Linked DNA regions of Homo sapiens: region 1 is linked to region 2. The links are contacts of gene promoters, found by promoter capture Hi-C in human tissues and cell types (Jung and others, 2019). All regions are on one chromosome and are shown on one strand. The core of a region is centred on a gene start or on the middle of the fragment in contact, and the rest is flanking DNA. Distances in the headings are between cores, read along the strand shown.

Region 1 (3,158 bases), core at 6-2,505, 130 kb after region 2:
CCAGTGCTCACTCCTCCACCCAACACAGCAAAAGTATAGAGTGGGGTGGAGAAGAGGAGTCAGGAATCCATGCTGAGGACAGGTTCTGGACAAAAATGGATAGTGAGCCCAGAGCAGTGGCTCACGCCTGTAATCCTAACACTTAGGGAGGCCAAGATGGGAGTTTCACTTGAGGTCAGGAGTTCGAGACAAGACCGGTCAGCATGGTGAAACCCCATCTTTACTAAAAATACAAAAATTAGCCGGGCATGGTGGCAGGTGCCTGTAATCCCAGCTACTCAGGAGGCTGAGGCAGGAGAATCACTTTAACTCCAGAGGTGGAGGTTGCAGTGAGCTGAGATTGCGCCACTGCACTCCAGCCTGGGCAACAGAGACTCCATCTCAAAAAATAAATAAATAAAATGAAATAAAAAATAAATTTAGGCTAGACGCAGTGGCTCATGCCTGTAATCCCAGCACTTTGGGAGGCTGAGGTGGGAGGATCATCTGAGGTCAGGAGTTTGAGACCAGCCTGGCCAACATGGTGAAACCCTGTCTCCACTAAAAATACAAAAATTAGCCAGGTGTGGTGGTGCATGCCTGTAATCCCAGCTACTCAGGAGGCTGAGGCAGGAGAATCGCTTGAACCTGGGAGGTAGAGGTTGCAGTGGGCCAAGATTGCCCCACTGCACTCCATCCTGGGCAACAAGAGTGAAACTGTGTCTCAAAAAATAAAATAAAATAAAATAAAAAATAATAATAATAACATTTTAAAAAATGGATGGTGGGAGGGCAGCACCAGCTTTCCAAGGGAGAACCCCTTGCCCCAGCCCTGCCTTCCCCCACTCAGACCTGACCCTTAGAAGCTCCTCACCCACACCCCTAGGGCCCTATGCTTGAGTTTTCTGGGGCAGGAGATCCCGAGGCTATGCCCACCACAACCCCCAACCCAGGTGAGACAGATCCTAGACTCCAAGTCTTCAAGACTGCCCATTCAACAGACTTGTAAACTGAGGCCCAGAGAAGCACTGCAACTAGCCGAAGGCCGCAAGAGCCAACAGCAGACTGAGGTCTTCTGCTCTTGGTCCAGTGCTTGTCCAAGACATGAGGAAGACACCCCACCGTCTGCCCTGGCCTCTGTAGGGGGTCTTCCTGCTCCCCAGCCTCACCTGCCTCAGTTGCTTGAAGCGCCACAGCAAGGAGGACGAGGACAACCAGGAGTGCAGTCTGTAGGCGATCCATGCTCTGTCCTGTATGTCTCAGCCCAGGTGTCTGCAAAGGGACATAGGAAGACCTGCTATTTAAGGTGCTGGCTCCACCCACAAGCCTCACTTACTTACCTCTTAGTCACCGGGGTGCCCAGAGTCACTTGACATTCACATCTCAAAAGAAGAACTACCTCCCACTTCCTCCAAAGTGGAGAAATTCTCTTTGGCGGGGAACCACTCAGAGGGGACCCCCCCTCAACTCTGTCCTCGCCTCTGGTTTCAGACAGACTTGTAAAATCCCCCTCTTAGAGGCTTGTGCTCCCCAGGGTCTCTGCACTGTGTGGCCTTGGCCATGTCTGGGTGTCTCTGGGACTTGGTTTCCCCATCTGGAAATGGGGGAGATGGTTTCACAGCTCTGTTGACTTCACTGGTTGTAAATCAAGTGAGAACGTGGACCAACCCTCACCTAGAATTGAGGCCTGTCTTGTACCCTTAATGACGGCATTACTGGTCTCTCTTCAATGGGAGAGGCCTATGGACCCATTGACCCATCTGGGGCTTCTCGTGAAGTCCACATTTGGGCCAGGTCGTGGATTTCTCAACGGTTTATGGAAAGCATCTACCCACACTTCTGTCCTGCCTGATCTTCCTTCCCAGTGGCTGCCGGGCTCTCCCTCCCCCACTCCTGTCTCAGTCCCTCACCATGTCCATGTCCCGTTGATTCTGCTTCCTAAATCTCTCTCAGATCTGCTCCTTCTCTCCAACCCCACTGTTCCTGCCCAGTCCAGGCCACCTCCACCTCAGGCTGGGATGCTGGCCTCCTCAATGCCATCCCCACCCTGCAGCAGCCAGCGTGAGTGGTCCAGAGCTACACACTCTCTCTCCTGCTTCAGAACCCTGCCGTGGCTCCCCATTCACCTAAAGGCAGGTCCCGGGCTCCTGTCTGTGGCCTTCAAGGCCCCGTTTCCGGACAGGCCTTTCCCCACTGGTCTCCTTCCCCTGAGGGATCACACCACACTCCTCACACTTCCTCAAAAGGGACTGCGGCCTGTCCCTGGCCTTTAATGTCACTTTCCACATCTCTACCACATAAACTCCTACTTATGCGTCAAAGCTGTTTGAAATGTCATGTCCTTGGTAAGCACACCCTCTCAGGACTTCAAAGCCTTCTAGGGGACCTGGAATGTGGCCCTGAGCAGACTGGGTCAGGTTTTCTCTTTCTCAAGCCCCTCCCTAGAAGTCAGACTCCAAGCTCTAGGAGGCTGGGGTCTCCCTTCATTTTTCTTGGCATTCCCAGGGCCCTCTGAGGATCAGGCACATGTTGGGTGCTCAGAACACATGGGCTGGGTGCAGTGATTCATGACTGTAATCCCAGCACTTTGGAAGGCCCAGGCAGGTGGATCACCTGAGGTCAGGAGTTCAAGACCAGCCTGGCCAACATGGAGAAACCCCATCTCTACCAAAAATACAAAAATTGGCCGGGTGTGATGGCATGCGCCTGTAATCCCAGCTACTTGGGGGGCTGAGAGGCAGGAGAATCGCTTGAATCCGGTGAGAGGCAGAGGTTGCAGTGAGCCAAGATTGCGCCACTGCACTCTAGCCTGGGTGAGAGAATGAGAGTCCATCTCAAAAAAAAAAAAAAAAAAAAAAAGAAAGAAAGAAAGAAAAAAAAGAACACATCTAATGAAGGAGGAAACTGAGGTTCAGAGAGAGAGGACTTGCCCAGTTCACACAGCCACACAGAGGCTACGCCAGGCCTGGAACTCAGAACTTGGGACTCCATGTATAAAGGGACCCATCCATTCATCCAATTCCTTCATTCAGCAAACATTTATTGAACGCTGTGGTAAACAGAATAATGGCCCCCCTAAATGTCCACATTCTAATCCCCAAAACCTATGAATATGTTACCTTACATGGTAAAAAGGACTTTGCAGATGTGACTGTTTAGGGTTTAGGATTTTTGTTGTT
Region 2 (3,077 bases), core at 59-2,558:
AATCAGAAAAATCTCATACTGAATGAAAAAAAGGCAATCAATAGATTTCAACACTGAGATGACAGAGATGTTGGAATTATCTGACAAAGATTTTAAAGTGGCCATCATAAAATGCTTCAAGGACCAACTGCGAACATGCTTGAAACAAGTAAAAAATAAAACATAGAAAGTCTCAGCAAAGAAACAGAAGGTATAAAGAGATCCAGTGGGAATTTTCGAACTGAAAAACACAATAACTGAAATAAAAACCTCAGTGGGTGGGCTGAATAGTAGAATTGGGGAACAGGAAAGAGTCAGTGAACTGGAAGAGAGAGCAATAGAAATTGCCCAATTTGAACAACAGAGAGAAAATACACTGAAAAATACAGGACCTGTAGGACTGTAACAAAAGATTTAGTATTTGTGCCATCAGAGTCCCTGAAAGAGAGAAGAAGGAAGACAAGGCTAAAAAAAGTACTCAAAGAAATAATGGCTGAGGCCAGGCACAGTGGTTCATGCCTATAATCCCAGCACTTTGGGAGGCCGAGGCGGGCGATCACCTGAGGCCAGGATTCAAGACCAGCCTGGCCAACATGGTGAAACCCTGTCTCTACTAAAATTATAAAAATTAGCCGGGCTTGGTGGCACACGCCTGTAATTTCAGCTACCCAGAGGCCGAGGTGGGAGAATCCCTTGAACCCGGAGGCAGAGTTTGCAATGAGCCGAGATCACGCCACTGCACTCCAGCCTGGGCAACAGAGCGAGACTCCATCTAAAAAGAAAAGAAAAGAGGCCGGGCGCGGTGGCTCACGCCTGTAATCCCAGCACTTTGGGAGGCCGAGGCGGGTGGATCATGAGGTCAGGAGATCGAGACCATCTTGTCTAACACGGTGAAACCCCGTCTCTACTGAAAATACAAAAAATAAAATAAAATAAAATAAAAAATTAGCCGGGCGTGATGGCGGGTGCCTGTAGTCCCAGCTACTCAGGAGGCTGAGGCGAGAGATTGGCGTGAACCTGGGAGGCGGAGCTTGCAGTGAGCCGAGATCGCGCCACTGCACTCCAGCCTGAGAAACGGAGCGAGACTCTGTCTCAAAAAAAATAAATTAGCAAAAAATAAAAATAAAAAGAAGAAAGAAAAGAAAAGAAAGAAATAATGCTTTTCCACCTATCTTGGTATCCCTTAACACAAAATTAACCATCACAGTAGACTCTAGAGCAAAGAAAACTACCAGAGACAGAGAGGGACGGTATATAATAGTAAAAGTGTCAATCTATCAAGAAGATATAGAAATCCTTAATACAGGGCCGGGCATGGTGGCTCACGCCTGTAATCCCAGCACTTTGGCAGGGCGAGGCAGGCAGATCACAAGATCAGGATTTCGAGACTGGCCTGGCCAATATGGTGAAACCCCATCTCTACAAAAAATACAAAAATTAGCCAGGTGTGGTGGCACACCCCTGTAGTCCCCGCTACTCAGGAGGTTGAGGCAGAAGAATCACTTCAACCCGGGAAGCGGAGATTGCAGTGAGCCGAGATCGCACCACTGCACTCCAACCTAGGCGACAGAGCAAGATTCCATATCAAAAAAAAAAAAAAAAAAAAAAAGAAGAAGAAAAGAAAAGAAATCCTTAATACACATGCACCAAGCAAGAGAACTACAAAATATGCAAAACAAAAACTGATAGAAGTGAAAGGAGAAATGGACAAATCCACACTTATAGTTGGAGATAGCAACACCTCTTTCCAGCTATTGATAGTACAACTAGATATAAAATCAGAAAAGATGCAGAACTTAACCACAGCATCAGCCAACAGGATCTAACTGATATTTTTAGAACACTCTACCTCAGAACAGCAGAACATACCGTGTTTTCTTTTTTTTCTTTTTTGAGACAGAGTCTTGCTCTGTCGCCCATGCTGGAGTGCAGTGGCACAATCTTGGCTCACTGCAACCTCCGCCTCCTGGGTCCAAGCAAGCGCATCTGGCTAATTTTTGTATTTTTAGTAGAGATGGGGTTTCACCGTACTGTCCAGGCTGGTCTCAAACTCCTGGCCTCAAGTGATCCACCCGCCTCAGCCTCCCAAAGTGCTGGGATTACAGGCGTGAGCCACCACACCGGGCCCACACCTTGTTTTCAAGTGCTCATGAACATATACCAAGATAGACCATGTCCTGGCCATAAAACAAACTTCAACAAGTTTAAAAGAATTGAAATCTTACAGAGTGTTTTTTTCTGGCTACAATGGAATCAAACTAGAAATCAGTAACACAAAGAGAACAGGAAATTATCCAAATACTTAGAAATTAAACAGTACGCTTCTGAATGATCCATGGATAAAGAGAACGTTTCAAGGGAATTTTTTAAAAGATACATTGAACTGAATGACAGCGAAAGTAAAACATATCAAAATTTGTGGAATACACCTAAAGCAGCACTAATATGGACATTTATTTCACCTTAGAAAAGAGGAAAAGTCTTATATCTGTCATCTGAACTCTATATCATCTAAACTTGATAGACTGACACCTTAAAGACCTAGAAAAAAACAGCAAAATAAATTCAAAACCAGCAGAAGTAAGGGAATAATAAAGATAAGAGCAGAAATCAATGAAATCTAAAATGAGAGAGAGAGAAAGAGAGAGAGAGGGAGAGAGAGAGAATTAGTGGAACAAAGATTTGGTTTTTTTGAACAGATCAATAAAATTGACAAACCTCCAGCAAGACTGACAGAGTAAAAATGTCAGAGAAGACACAAATACCTACATCAGAAGTGAAATAAGGAATATTGCTATAAAACCTGAAGACATCAATAATAATAATAATAAGGTAATGTTTATTATTATTGTAAAGTTGACAACTTAGATGAAATAACTACTTCCCCCAAAGACACAAACTGTTACAATTCATTTAACATGAAATAGTTCATTTGAGTAGTCTTGTAACAATTAAGGAAATTAGATTTTAAATTTTAAAACTCCCAAAAAAGAAATATCTTTGGGAAGCCAAGGCAGCAGGTTCACTCGAGCCTAGGAGTTTGAGATCAGCCTGGGCAACATCACGAGAGCCCCCATCTCATTTTATTTAAAAAAATT

Evidence for each region. The method cuts DNA at HindIII sites, captures the fragments that hold promoters and counts their contacts. A contact is called where the count stands out against the background at its distance.
Region 1: the fragment with the promoter of CCL22 here is called in contact with a fragment that was not itself captured in region 2 in 2 of the 25 tissues and cell types used here (adrenal gland and thymus).

What each region holds. Positions count from the first base shown.
Region 1 is chr16:57,356,880-57,360,037 of GRCh38, reverse strand. CCL22 (C-C motif chemokine ligand 22) reads right to left here and starts at 1,255. Exons shown (of 3, transcript NM_002990.5): 1 at 1,149-1,255. The coding sequence starts at 1,221. The HindIII fragment of the contact is 38,120 bases long and covers 1-3,158 here.
Region 2 is chr16:57,491,234-57,494,310 of GRCh38, reverse strand. No RefSeq gene overlaps it. Among named protein-coding and RNA genes, the nearest start is that of DOK4, 6.3 kb to the right of the region's middle. The HindIII fragment of the contact is 9,222 bases long and covers 1-3,077 here.